Linked DNA regions of Homo sapiens: region 1 is linked to region 2. Evidence: promoter capture Hi-C in 16 types of primary human blood cells and fetal thymus (Javierre and others, 2016). All regions are on one chromosome and are shown on one strand. The core of a region is centred on a gene start or on the middle of the fragment in contact, and the rest is flanking DNA. Distances in the headings are between cores, read along the strand shown. Region 1 overlaps SLC12A9-AS1 (SLC12A9 antisense RNA 1). Region 2 holds the start of ZNHIT1 (zinc finger HIT-type containing 1).

Evidence for each region. Contacts are between HindIII fragments. The CHiCAGO score rates a contact against its expected background, and 5 or more counts as called.
Region 1: a fragment that was not itself captured here is called in contact with the fragment with the promoter of ZNHIT1 in region 2 in 1 of 17 cell types (activated CD4 T cells); the score reaches 5.1 in activated CD4 T cells.

Annotation. Positions count from the first base shown.
Region 1 is chr7:100,831,955-100,838,439 of GRCh38, reverse strand. SLC12A9-AS1 (SLC12A9 antisense RNA 1) reads left to right here. Exons shown (of 2, transcript NR_146550.1): 2 at 861-1,126. It also overlaps a transcript of SLC12A9 not described here. Among named protein-coding and RNA genes, the nearest start is that of EPHB4, 7.7 kb to the right of the region's middle. RefSeq lists enhancers at 807-886, 897-946, 404-1,323, 1,324-2,243, 2,244-3,163. The HindIII fragment of the contact is 4,427 bases long and covers 2,156-6,485 here.
Region 2 is chr7:101,215,768-101,222,654 of GRCh38, reverse strand. ZNHIT1 (zinc finger HIT-type containing 1) reads right to left here and starts at 4,490. Exons shown (of 5, transcript NM_006349.3): 1 at 4,438-4,490; 2 at 1-51. The coding sequence starts at 4,459. It overlaps PLOD3 (procollagen-lysine,2-oxoglutarate 5-dioxygenase 3), which reads left to right and starts at 5,074. Exons shown (of 19, transcript NM_001084.5): 1 at 5,074-5,489; 2 at 5,869-5,960; 3 at 6,109-6,245; 4 at 6,329-6,492; 5 at 6,635-6,747. The coding sequence starts at 5,381. RefSeq lists enhancers at 4,143-4,684, 4,778-4,897, 5,446-5,968 and silencers at 4,998-5,277, 5,418-5,467, 5,528-5,647. The HindIII fragment of the contact is 814 bases long and covers 3,798-4,611 here.

The DNA of each region.
Region 1 (6,485 bases), core at 3,120-5,619, 380 kb after region 2:
CACATCTCTCTTCTCACCTCCTGCGCGTGCCCCACTAGGGCCTCTGGGCTGTTCCTCAGACAACTCCAGAACCTCTTTTAGGTCTTCTGGACTCAAATATTATCTTCCTAGTGAAATCTTCCCTGCGAATCCCATTTAAAATTGAACCACATGGCTGGGTGCTATACTCCCAATGCTTTGGAAGGTGGAGGCAGGAGGATCACTTGAGCCCAGGAGTGTGAGACCAGCCTGGGCAACATAGCAAGACTGTCTCCACAAAAAAATTTTACAACTTGAAATAGCCGGGTGCGGTGGCTCACGCCTGTAATCCCAGCACTTTGGGAGGCTGAGGCGGGCAGATCACGAGGTCAGGAGATCAAGACCATCCTGGCTAACATGGTGAAACCCTGTCTCTACTAAAAATACAAAAAAATTAGCCAGGCATGGTAGAGGGCGCCTGCAGTCCCAGCTACTTGGGAGGCTGAGGCAGGAGAATGGCGTGAACCCAGGAGGCTGAGCTTGCAGTGAGCGAAGATCACGCCACTGCACTCCAGCCTGGGCAACAGAGCAAGACTCTGTCTCAAAAAAAAAAAAAAAAAAAAAAAAAAATTGAAATAAATGTTTTAAAAATAAATAGATGAAATAAAATTGGCTCAGGTTTATAATCCCAACACTTTGGGAGGCCAAGTGTGGAGGATCACTTGAGGTCAAGAGTTCGAGGCTGCAATGAGGTATGACCTTGCCCATGCACTCAGCCTAGGCAACAGAGAGAGATCCTGTCTCAAAAAAAGAAAGGAAGTTAAGCTCCACGAAACAGGAGCTTCAGTTTTCTTCGCTGCTGCCCTGCGCCTGGAATAACCAAACATTCACTGTGGCTGCAGGAATCCTCCGGAATCCGCCCCACTGCACGCCAGCAGTCGGAGGCCTGGGGCGTGCTGCCCACGTGACTGACGGCCGGGAAGGAAAGATGGCGGCGACTATGATGGCTTCAGAGAGAGGGCAACCAACGAGAGGACGCCGCCCGCCAGAGCGTCCACACCGCCGCTTTTTCTGCGGTTGCGTCCTGGGAAGGCGCGAATTGTGTGGCTACGGGCGGGTCGTCCTCTCCACCATTTTTTAATGGAAAAAATAATAATTCTCAAAGACGGTTTGGTCTGACCTGCCTCCCCACCTCTTGGCATCCGCAGGATCGCAGGCGTGTAAAAGACGGGATTGTGGGACTGGGCCCAGTGACTCATGCCTGTAATCCCAGCGCTTTGCGGGGCCAAGGCCAGAGTATCTCTTGAGCCCAGGTGTTCGAGACCAGCCTGGGCAACATAGCGAGCCCCCATCTCTATTTTTAAAAATGGTGTATAGATATAGAGGAGATCGTGGGATTCAGTATCTGAGATTTTCTACCTTGGTGTCAACGCCCCTGTCAACCTATTAGGTGACCTCAGAGTGTTCCCCCAGCCCTCAATTCTAGGGATCCCAGATCCTGGAACACACACATGCCCCGTCTGCCCCTTCGGGACAAGGAGATCTAATGGCACTCTCAGAATTAGGCCTTAAATGCTAATTTCCTGGAGATCCGCCCACCTCACCCCCACCCTCCCCCACCCCATTCCTGCTGTAAACTCCCCAGGATTAAGTCTGGTGAATCTGCGCCCCCCTCCCCCAGGTCCCAGGGGCAGATGAGCCCTTGGGCACCGCCCCTCCAATTTCCTGCAGACCCAGCAAACAAAAGACTCTCGGGAAGAGAGGCGAGCTGAGCAGGGCGCCCTTCCTGCAAGAACAGCTGATGGGGCAAAACGGCCCAGGAGTGAGCCGAGGGGAGGGATGAAATTCCAGGGTTCCTGGAGGGCAGCAGTGCGAGGCTAGACCCCTGGATCCTGGGGAGGGAGGGTATCTGGGCAGCAGCTGGATGTGGAAGGCTCTGGCCAGACAGGTTGCTGGGCTGTGGCGCATGGGGTGATGTCAGCCTTAGGGAATGGAGCGGGGGGTGGGTTTTCTGAGGTTCAGGTGAGCTCTCTGGTCCCCAGGCTGGAAGAGTGGGGCCTGGGAGAGGGCTGAGGCCCTGCGTCATCTCCTCTGGGGCCCGGCCTACCTTCCCCTGGCCCGACCTGCTACCCTCGGTGCCGGCCCCACCCGGCCTGGCTTCCTGCTCCTCCCCACACACATCTTTCTGTGCCAAGCTTCCCTAACCAGCCCAAGAGCTTCTTGTCCCTTCCAGACCCCGGTATCCTGGCCTCCAGCCACAAATAGTCCTTCTTACTTTCCCTCCTAGAGCCAGCCTCCTGCCTGCCCCTGCTCCCATTCCCAGCCAGGACACAATAGTCAGGGAAGGGCCACAGTGCAGTCCAGTGGGTGCTGGGATGCTGCTGGCATGGGGGGGCTTGGCCTCATATCCTGCCAGGCTGTCAGGGGAAGAGAGGAAACAAAAGACTTCCCCCTGCTGGGACAATGAGCCTCCCACTACCTCTCCCCAACCCTCCCACTACCCTGTACCTTTCCACTCCACTCCCTGAACAGTCGTTCTTAGCTCTGGCCCCAGCCCCTTAGCCTCTCTCTCCTCCACCTCCATGCCCTTTGGCATCCCTGGCCTCTGCTACAAGCTCTGCCCTTCTCTCATTCTTATCAGCTCACTGATGCTCACTGCCATTTCTAGCTATTTCTCTCAGCCTCTTGCTATTCCAACAGCACTCAAGAGCCCTTCCTCTATCCCCAGCACTAGGGAGGGGAGCAGGATGGGAAAGTCTGCATGAAATGTTAAAGGGTCAATCACACTCTTTTGTGTATGTGTGTTTTTGTTTTTTTGTTGTTTTTTTTTTTGAGACGGAGTCTTGCTCTGTCACCCAGGCTGGAGTGCAGTGGTGCAATCTCAGCTCACTGCAACCTCTGCCTCCCGGGTTCAAGCGATTCTCCTGCCTCAGCCTCCCAAGTAGCTGGGACTACAGGCGCGTACCACCACACCCAGCTAATTTTTGTATTTTTAGTAGAGACGGGGTTTCACCATGTTGGCCAGGATGGTCTCGATCTCTTGACCTCGGGATCTGCCCACCTCGGCTTCCCAAAGTGCTGGGATTACAGGCATGAGCGACCGCGCCCGGCATTTTTTTTTTTTTTAAAGACAGAGCCTCGCTTTGTTGCCCCGGCTGGAGTGCAGTGGAACCATCTCAGCTCACTGCAACCTCTACCTCCCAGGTTCAAGCGATTCTCCTGCCTCAGCCTCCCAAGTAGCTGGATAACAGGCACGCACCACCATGCCCAGCTAATTTTTGTGTTTTTAGTAGAGACTGGGTTTCACCATGTTGGCCAGGCCGGTCTCAAACTCCTGACCTCAGGTGATCCACTTGCCTTGGCCTCCCAAAGTGCTGGGATTACAGGCGTGAGCCACTGCACCCGGCCAATCACACTCTTTTGTTTGTTTATTTTAATTTTTTTTGTTGAAACGGGGTCTCACTCTGTTGCCCAGGCTGCAGTGCAGTGGTGTGATCACGGCGGCTCACTGCAGCCTCCACCTCCTGGGGTCAAGCAATCCTCCTGTCTCAGCCTCCTGTATAGTTGGGATTACAGGCGTGAGCCACTGTGCCCAGCCCATTATTTTTATTTTTGAGACAGGGTCTTGCTCTGTTGCCCAGACTGGAATGCAGTGGTGCAATCTCACTACAACCTCTGCCTCCTGGGCTCGGGTGATCCTCTCACCTCAGCCCCCCGAACAGCTGGGACCACAGGCGTGCTCCACCACGCCTGGCTAATTTTTGTAGAGATGAGGATTCATCATGTTGCCCAGGCTGGTCTTGTACTCCTGGTCTCAAGTGATCTGCCAGCTGCGTCCTCCCAAATGCTGGGATTCTAGGTGTGAGCCACCGCACCCAACCCTTATCTCCTGAATCCTCCCCGGCTCCATACATGCGTGCACCATCCCCCCCAACACACACACACTCACACATACACGCCTATCTGGGTTCAAACCCACATAGTCACTTGGATGCTGCACTGGTTTCCCCGCCTTCAGTCTTCATTCCTTTCAGTCTATTCTCCAAAATTGTATAAGTGGGATCTTTCTCTACAAACCATGCAATGTTGCTTCTTGGCCTAAAACCCTTCACTAGCTCCCCAGAGCAGTCCTGCAAAAACCCGTAATGACCTGAGGCTGGCCCTCACTCACCTCTCCAGTTCACCCATGGTCACTGTCCTTGCCCTCTCTGACCTGGCGTTGTGAACTCTGGCAGCTCTCTGAATGGGGCGACCTCACAACTCTGCCTTTAAACTCCTTTCCTGCCAATCTCTAGGACTCATTCAGACATCATCACCTTCTGCAGAAAGCTCACCTGAAACCTGCATCGGCTGTGCTTCCTGCGTGATCCTGTAGGGTCCTCTGTGCACCACAAGTTAGGCTGTGCGCTTAGCCACCTGGATGCTGGTGAGGCCCCGTGGCTGTTTCTACCCCTGACTTGTCTAATCCTGGAAGGTAGAAAATGACTTGGTGTCCTCCATTTTCAATTTTTCCTTCTTTCTTTTTTTTTTTTTTTTTTTTTTTTTTTTTGAGACAGAGTCTCGCTCTGTACCTGAGGCTGGAGTGCAGTGGCGTGATCTGGGTTCACTGCAAGCTCCGCCTCCCGGGTTCCCGCCATTCTCCTGCCTCAGCCTCCCAAGTAGCTGGGACTACAGGTGCCCACCACCACACCCGGCTAATTTTTGTATTTTTAGTAGAGATGGGGTTTCACCATGTTAGCCAGGATTGTCTCGATCTCCTGACTTCGTGATCCGCCCACCTCAGCCTCCCAAAGTGCTGGGATTATAGGTGTGAGCCACCACACCCAGCTATTTTTTCTTTAGAGCTGGGGTCTCACTATGTTGCCCAGGCTGGCCTGGAACTCCTGGGCTCAAGTGATCCTCCCACCTCGGCCTCCCAAAGTGCTGGGATTACAGGCATGAGCCACCATACCTTGTCTGTTTTTTTTTGTTTTGTTTTGTTTTTTTGCTTTTTGTTTTGTTTTGCTTTGCTTTGAGACAGAGTCTCGCTCTGTCACCCAGCCTGGAGTGCAGTGGTACAATCTTGGCTCACTGCAACCTCTGCCTCCTGGATTCAAGCAATTCTCGTGCCTCAGCCTCCTGAGTAGCTGGGATTACAGGCGTGTGCCACTGTAACTGGCTAATTTTTCTATTTTTAGTAGAGACGGGCCAGGCAGGTCTTGAACTCCCAACCTCAGGTGATCCACCCGCCTCGGCCTCCCAAAGTGCTAAGATTACAGGTGTGAGCCACTGCGCCCAGCCTTTTTTTCAACTTTTTTTTTGGCCTCACACAGTGCTAGAATTAGGTAGGAGTTTGAGACCAGCCTGGACAACATAGCAAGACCTCATGTCTACAAAAAATAAAAATAAAATAAAATAAATTAGCCAGGCCAGGTGCAGTGGATCACACCTGTAATCATAGGACTTTGGGAGGCTGAGGCTAGACAATCACTTGAGCTCAAGAGTTCAAGACCAGCCTGCGCAACATAGTGAGACCCTGTCTGTACAAACACTAAAAATATTAGCTAGGCATGGTGGCACACGCCTGTAGTCTCAGCTACTTGGGAGGCTGAGGCAGGAGGATCGCTTGAGCCTGGGAGTTCGAGGCTGCAGTGAGCCTCGATCGTGCCACTGCACTCCAGCATGGGTGACAAAGGGAGACCCTGTCTCTTAAAAAAAGAAAAAAAAAGGTATAAAATCTTTGGATTGAGAGAAGAAATCACAGCTGACCTCAAATGTTTAAAATATGACAAATATCATAAATATTATACAAGCTAGAAAAATAACAACATTTATAGTAAAGAAGACTGATATAGCCCTGGAATACTTGCATTTACTACCTTTTTCTTAGATGTGTACTCTTTGACCATCTCTTCATATGATGATTTTGTAATATTATTTTCTATTCTTTCTCTGTCTTTCCTCTAGGATGGCTGATTAATTTTTGCTTAGAGATGGGGTCTCGCTCTGTTGCCCAGGTTGGAGTGCAGTGGTGCCATCACGGCTCCCTGCAGCCTAGACCTCTCAGGCTCAGTGATCCTCCCACCTCGGCCTCCCCAGTGTCTGAGAGACCATAGCCACATGCCACCACGCCCAGCTATTTTTTATTTTTTATTTTCTGGTAGAGACAGGGGTCTCACTTTGTTGCCCAGGCCGGTCTCAAACTCCAGGACTCAAGCAATCCTCCTGCCTTGGCTTCCCAAAGTGCTGGAATTACAGGTGTGAGCCACAGTGCCTGGCTAAGTTATTTTTTTTTGGTGGGAGTGGGACGGAGTCTCGCTCTGTTGCCAGGCTGGAGTGCAGTGGCGCGATCTCGGCTCACTGCAACCTCCGCCTCCCAAGTTCAAGTGATTCTCCTGCCTCAGCCTCCCGAGTAGCCTGGCTAAGTTTTTAAGGTTTCATCATTGTTTATAAAAATTTATTTGAGCTTTACAACTCTATTGGTAATGTTGAAAACTCTATCAAATTCCTTTTGTAACAGAGCTGTAAGATTTCAGGTCATTTCAAGT
Region 2 (6,887 bases), core at 3,241-5,740:
GCCGGGCAGCCCGGTCCAGCACCCGCCGCTGCCCGGGGTCCTGGGAGCGAACTGGATGGAGCAGGGCACGCAAAGTTACAGGGCTTCCAAGAAAGAGCAGTGTGGCCGCCGCTCTGGGCAGGGCGAGGAAGGCACCCGGGGTGGAAGCTGCAGCTCTCTGATCTCATCCCCATTGCCAAGCCCTTGGTCCCCTTGTCTCCTCCCGGGCCAAGCCCTGGGCCCACACTTCCTGTCCCGCCAGCTGAGACCCTTTCAGTTTCTCCTGCCTGTTTTCTCCGCCTTCCTCTCAATCCCAGTCCCAGCCAGTGAGCCCCGGCCTGGAGACAGCTCACTGCTGACTGGGGAGGTCACAGCGCCCTGGGGCTTCCAGGCTGTCCTGGGCCCTCAATACACATGGCCCTCACACTCAGCATCTCACCTCCTACCTCAAAGGAACCAGGGGCCACCCATGCTTGGATACGCTCATCTTCCAGGCCACCTACCCACAAACGTGATGCCAAGTGGGCACACCCCTGCCCTGGAGCGCCCCAAGTCCCACCACTGACCCCGAGCCTTCACCTCCAGCCCATTCCCTCCCTCTCCCATCTTCAACCCCTCCTCCTCAACCGGCACTTTCCATCAAAGAGCTGGCGACGCTCATGTGTCTACTCGGCTTCACAGCTCCTTCTCCTTCACAGCAACTCACGTGATGTGTCACTTTTTCACCTCCCATCCTCTCCTTGAACCCCAAAATCTGACACCTGCCTGGTCATCCTGGGGGACCACCCACCCACGCTCTGGGCCCCAGAGCGGCTCCAGTGTGCCTTCCTCCTCCTCCTTGGACCTGAGCCCTGTCCACCCTGTGGCGGTGCCGACTACCTTCATCGAGTAGAAAGAGACCCTTTGCTTGCTTCCTTGACAAAACTGCAGGCCTTCTCCATGTCCAGGAATCCTCCGGCTCCAGCTCGGCTGCTCTCCCTGCCTCTATGGAGGTGGCTGGCCCTCTTCTCTGCTCAGTCTATGCACTCTTCCTGGGATTTTGACTCCAAACAAAGGGCTCTGATGATCACCCACAAGCAAATGACTCCCAGAGTGACTCCCTCAACACAGAACCTGCTCCCGGGCTCCAGAACTGGCCATGCAGCCAGCGCCTGGTGAGGCCGGGTGTGGTGGCGCACGCCTGTAATCTCAGCACTTTGGGAGGCCAAAGGATCGCTTGATGCCAGGAGTTAGAAACCAGCCTGGGCAGCATAGCCAAACCCCATCTCTACAAAAAATTAAAAAATAAGCCAGGCGTGGTTGCACATGCCTGTAGTCCCAGTTACTTGGGAGGCTGCGGTGGGAGGACTACATGGGCCCGGGAGGTTGAGGCTGCAGTGTGCAGCAAGCCGTGATCGCGCCACCACTCCAGCCTGAGTGACAAAGCAAGACTGTCTCCAAAAAAAAAAAAAAAGAAAGAAGGAAAAAAGAAATCACCCACTGGCCCTGTGGACACTGCAACTCAAAAAAAAAAAAAAATTCCCATCCAAGTCTGCTTCTCCTGCAGATTCTCTCTACGCAAATGGAACCGTCTATGCAGACATCCAAACCAGAAACCTAGAAGTTATTTTAAACCTCTTTCCTCGGCTGGACATAGTGGCTCACCCCTGCAATCCCAGCACTTTGGGAGGCTGAGGTGGGCTCATCACTTCAGGTCAGGAGTTCGAGACCAGCCTGACCAACGTGGTGAAACCATGTCTCTACTAAAAATACAAAAATTAGCAGGGTGTGGTGGCACATGCCTGTAATCCCAGCTACGCGGGAGGCTGAGGCACAAGAATCGCTTGAACCCGGGAGGTGGAGGTTGCAGCGAGCTGAGATCGCGCCATTGCATTCCAGCCTGGGCAACAGAGAGAGACCCTGTCTCAAAAACAAAAAACAAAAAACCTCTTTCCTCATTGCCTTATCAGCTGTTTGCCAGATTCTGATAATTTTGCATAATATATCTCTTTATTCATTAACCACCTGTTAAGCATAATAATAACAGCAGCAGCCCCAGTAGCTATCACTTGTTGGACACTTACTATGAGCCAGGCACGTGCTCAGCTCTTTGCAACACTTGAACCATTTAACCCTTACAACAGCTGTATGGGACAGTATCATCATCCCCAATTTACCAACATTCAGAGATTAAGAAATGTGTCCAAAGTTCACATAGCTAACAAGTGGCCAGGTCAGGAGTCAAAGAACTACCCAGCATCAAAAAGCATGACCTTGCCAGGCGCAGTGGCTCATGCCTGTTATCTCAGCACTTTGGGAGGCCAAGGTGGGTGGATTGTTTGAGCGCGGGAGTTCGAGGCCAGCCTGGGCAACATGGCAAAACCATGTTTCTACAAAAAAAATACAAAAATTAGCCAGGTGTAGTGGGACACACCTGTAGTCCCAGCTATTCAGGAGGCTGAGGCGCAAGGATTGCTTGAGCCCAGGAGCTCAAGGCTGCAGTGAGCTGTGTTTGTGCCACTGCACTCCAGCCTGGGTGACAGAGCAAGACCCTGTTTCAAAAAAAAAAAAAAAAAAAAAAAAACCCAAAACCAACCAAACAAAAAAAAATATGATTATGATCACTGTACTACTCTGTCTCCCCTCCAAATGCCAGGCAGTGCTCTAGGTTTTAGGGATGCCAAAGCTTACAGTCCAGTGGCAAACACAAATGATTAATGAAACAAACACAGTAAGTACAGCATGGAGTAGGCTAGGATACGGAAGTATAAAGTGCTGCAGAGCCCAGGACAGAAACACCCAACCTGGCCTTGGAGTAGTCAGGGAAGACTTCCCAGAAGAAGGTAAGTCTAGGTTAAGGCCTAACTGGTGAATGACCTGGCTAGGGGAGACAGCGGGGTATTTCAGACCTTGAGGCCAACATGAAAAAACTGATGGCTGGGAGACTGCGATGCCTTTGAAAAACTGAGAGGGCCAAGCGCAGTGGCTCATGCCTGTAATTCTAGCATTTTGGGGGGCCGAGGCGGGTGGATCACGAGGTCAGGAGATCAAGACCATCCTGGCTAACATGGTGAAACCCTGTCTCTACTAAAAATACAAAAGATAAGCTGGGTGTGGTGGCGGGCGCCTGTAGTCCCAGCTACTCCAGAAGCTGAGGCCAGAGAATGGTGTGAACCCGGGAGGCAGAGCTTGCAGTGAACCGAGATTGCGCCACTGCACTCCAGCCTGGGGGACAGAGCAAGACTCCGTCTCAAAAAGAAAAAAAAAGAAAGAAAGAAAAACTAAAAGGGCCAAGCGCAGTGGCTCATACTTGTAATCCTAGCATTTTGGAAGGCCGAGGCAGGAGGATCACATGAGCTCAGGAGTTCAAGACCAGCCTGGGCAACATAGTGAGACACCCATCTCAACAAAAAATATAAAAACTAGCCCAGCATGGTGGCCTGCACCCACCTGTAGTTCCACCTACTCAGGTGGCTGAGGTGGAAGAATCACTTGAGCATGGGAGGTTGAGGCTGCAGTGAGTTATATAGAACCACTGCATTCCAGCCTGGGTGACAGAGCAAGACTCTGTCTAAAAAAAAAAAGTCTTTGCTGGCTCTCCAGTGTTTCCCTACAGAGTTCAAACTCCTGGGCAGTGTGTATAATGCCTTTCAAAATGTAACCTTTCCCCAGCCTTCGATCCTTTCTTATTACTCTGTAAGATCCAAACTGTGAACTTGGCTTCCTAAGCGACTTGCTTTTTCTTGCTTCACTGCCTTTGCACGTGAGGTTCCCACTGAGAGAAACCCTAACTAGACTTTCAAGACTCAATTCAAGCTTTTTCATTTTTCCTTCAAGCTTTCACAGTCCCCTGCCTCCCAGAACCTGGGCTAGATGCCACGTCTCCCTGTTCCCAGGCGCTGTGCTTCCCTCTGCCATAGCACAAATCACAAATCACAGTAAAATACAGTGTTAGGTCTGCGTTTCTGCCCCCCTTCCAGAAAAAGCCAATGCTTGGATAAGAGGGGTCTTTCTCCTCTTCATCCCCAGCGCCCGGCTTGGAGCAGGCACCAATAAAACGTGAATGAAGGGTCAACGCCAGGACCCGAGGGCTGAGGAAGGGATTTACGAGGAATAGCTGGGGCCGGGCGCGGCAGCTCACGCCTGTAATCCCAGCACTTTGGAAGGCCCACGCAGGAGGATCGCTTTGAGGCCAAGAGTTGGAGACCAACCTGGGCAACATAGCGAGAGCCCGTCACCACATAACAAATTAAAAATTAACCAGGCGTGGGGCCTCATGCTTGCAGTTCCAGCCACTCCGGAGGCTGAGGTGGGAGGATGGTTTGATCCCAGGAAATCGAGGCTGCAGTGAGCTATGACTATGCCACTGCACTCCAGCCTAGGCGAAAGAGCGAGACCAAAAAAGAGGAATGACTAGGTAAGAAAATTCTAGGACTGACTTGGGAAGGGGAAGGGGGCGAACCGCGGGGGCTCACATACCCGAAGTTTTCTTCTCCACCATTGGCACAACACAACTGTCGGAAGAAACTGCTGCGCACGCGTACTAACCCCAAGGCTTTAGTAGGGGCGCCATCACTTCCGGTAGCTTGTACTTCTGCGCGTGCGCCACAGCTTTGACTCATTACGTGGCGTTTCCTTGGAGACAAGAAAGCTTTTCGCCATGTTTTATAGGGGCAAAACCACTTCCGGCCTCAGTGTGGAGGTGTAAATCTTGTGGGAGCCACGAAATGGGTCATTTTAAAGATGTGGTCACGGTGTTCTTACAAGAAATCTTATTTTCCTTTGGTCCTTGTGAAGATGCTGTGATCACAAAGGCAGCCCCTGGAGCTTCTCCGGGCAGAAGAGGAGGTGGGCTGGACTGTCAAAGAAAGTGGCTGGCTTCCGTGGGCAATCCGAGGTTCCTAGTGGCCCTCTGCAGAAAGCTGAACTCCCAGTTCCCCCAGGCCTCCGTCCCGCGGCGGACTCCTAGGCTTCCTCCCTCCCTGTCGCCGCCAGCCTCTCGCTCTCCCCGTCTTCCGCCCGCACTCTCTGGGCAGGGCTGCGGCCAGGACCCGCCCCCGCGTCCCGCCCGACCCTCCGCCAGGGGTCACTTCCCCTGTCCAGGTTTCAGCTTCCACATGTGTCAAGCGGCTGGCTCAGCCCAGAGTCCCTGTCTCCCGCCCGCCGGCCCGAGCCGCCGCCCCTCCCCCGCCTCCCGTGCGCCCGGGACAATCCTCGCCTTGTCTGTGGCGCCGGCATCTGGAGCTTTCTGTAGCCTCCGGATACGCCTTTTTTTCAGGGCGTAGCCCCAGCCAAGCTGCTCCCCGCGGCGGCCGCACAGCAGCCCGAGCGCCCCCTTTCCAGAGCTCCCCTCCGGAGCTGGGATCCAGGCGCGTAGCGGAGATCCCAGGATCCTGGGTGCTGTCTGGGCCCGCTCCCCACCATGACCTCCTCGGGGCCTGGACCCCGGTTCCTGCTGCTGCTGCCGCTGCTGCTGCCCCCTGCGGCCTCAGCCTCCGACCGGCCCCGGGGCCGAGACCCGGTCAACCCAGGTGAGATCCCGGGGAGGCCCGGCACGGCCGAGGGGGCAGAGGCTGGCGTGCCTGCCAGCCTGGCCCGGAGAGGGTCGGAGGCTCGAGGAGGTGTCTGGCCCGTCCCCCGCCCAGCGTGCTCTTGAGGCTGAGTCGCGCCAAGCCCCTCGCCCATCACTACCCTGAACTGGGGTTTCCAGCCTCCCTATGCAAAGGGACTCGGAATTCCTGGGCACCACTCCCACCCTGCCCTCCTTGGGGTCAGAGTGTTCCTGGGTGAGAAGAGTTTAAGAATGGGAAGGAAGAAAGGGAGGGAAGTCGAGTGAGAGGGAGGACAGCAAAGCACGTGAGGCCCGGAGCTGGGCGGTGGATCTCAAGTGCCATTTCCCTCTGGTAACAGAGAAGCTGCTGGTGATCACTGTGGCCACAGCTGAAACCGAGGGGTACCTGCGTTTCCTGCGCTCTGCGGAGTTCTTCAACTACACTGTGCGGGTGAGGAGAGGGAAAGGCCCCTGGGAGGGGGTCCCAGCAGGAGGGGTGGGCTGAAGTCTGGATGCCCAGGTCCCCACGGTAAGCCTGGTCAGGAGTTCCCCCCACAACTCCCCACCCCTTGCCTGGCACGGGGCAATCTTCTCCACAGACCCTGGGCCTGGGAGAGGAGTGGCGAGGGGGTGATGTGGCTCGAACAGTTGGTGGAGGACAGAAGGTCCGGTGGTTAAAGAAGGAAATGGAGAAATACGCTGACCGGGAGGATATGATCATCATGTTTGTGGATAGGTAACGGGGCTGGGGATAGGGAGCGGGGTAAGGATGCTGAGGTTCCCAGTGGACCCCTGCCCATCCTCCCCTTCCTCACCCAGCTACGACGTGATTCTGGCCGGCAGCCCCACAGAGCTGCTGAAGAAGTTCGTCCAGAGTGGCAGCCGCCTGCTCTTCTCTGCAGAGAGCTTCTGCTGGCCCGAGTGGGGGCTGGCGGAGCAGTACCCTGAGGTGGGCACGGGGAAGCGCTTCCTCAATTCTGGTGGTGAGTGGCAGAGTGCCCAAGGCAGAGGGGCCAAGAGCGGTGGGACACAGAGTGTTAAAGGCGCCTGAGGGCTGGAGACAGCCTGGGGGACAGGCCCTGGGACCCTGGGAGTCTCGAGGTCAACACTCCCCCTCCCCGCCAGGATTCATCGGTTTTGCCACCACCATCCACCAAATCGTGCGCCAGTGGAAGTACAAGGATGATGACGACGACCAGCTGTTCTACACACGGCTCTACCTGGACCCAGGACTGAGGGTAGGGAAGGCAGAGGAGTGGGCGCATCCCGCAGCTCTGTGGGAGTGGAGGCCTCAGGCTGAATGGGATTTGGGGAGCAAAGGGGGTTGCAAAGAGAAAAATGTGTGCCTGGGCGTGGTGGCTCACGCCTGTCATCCAAG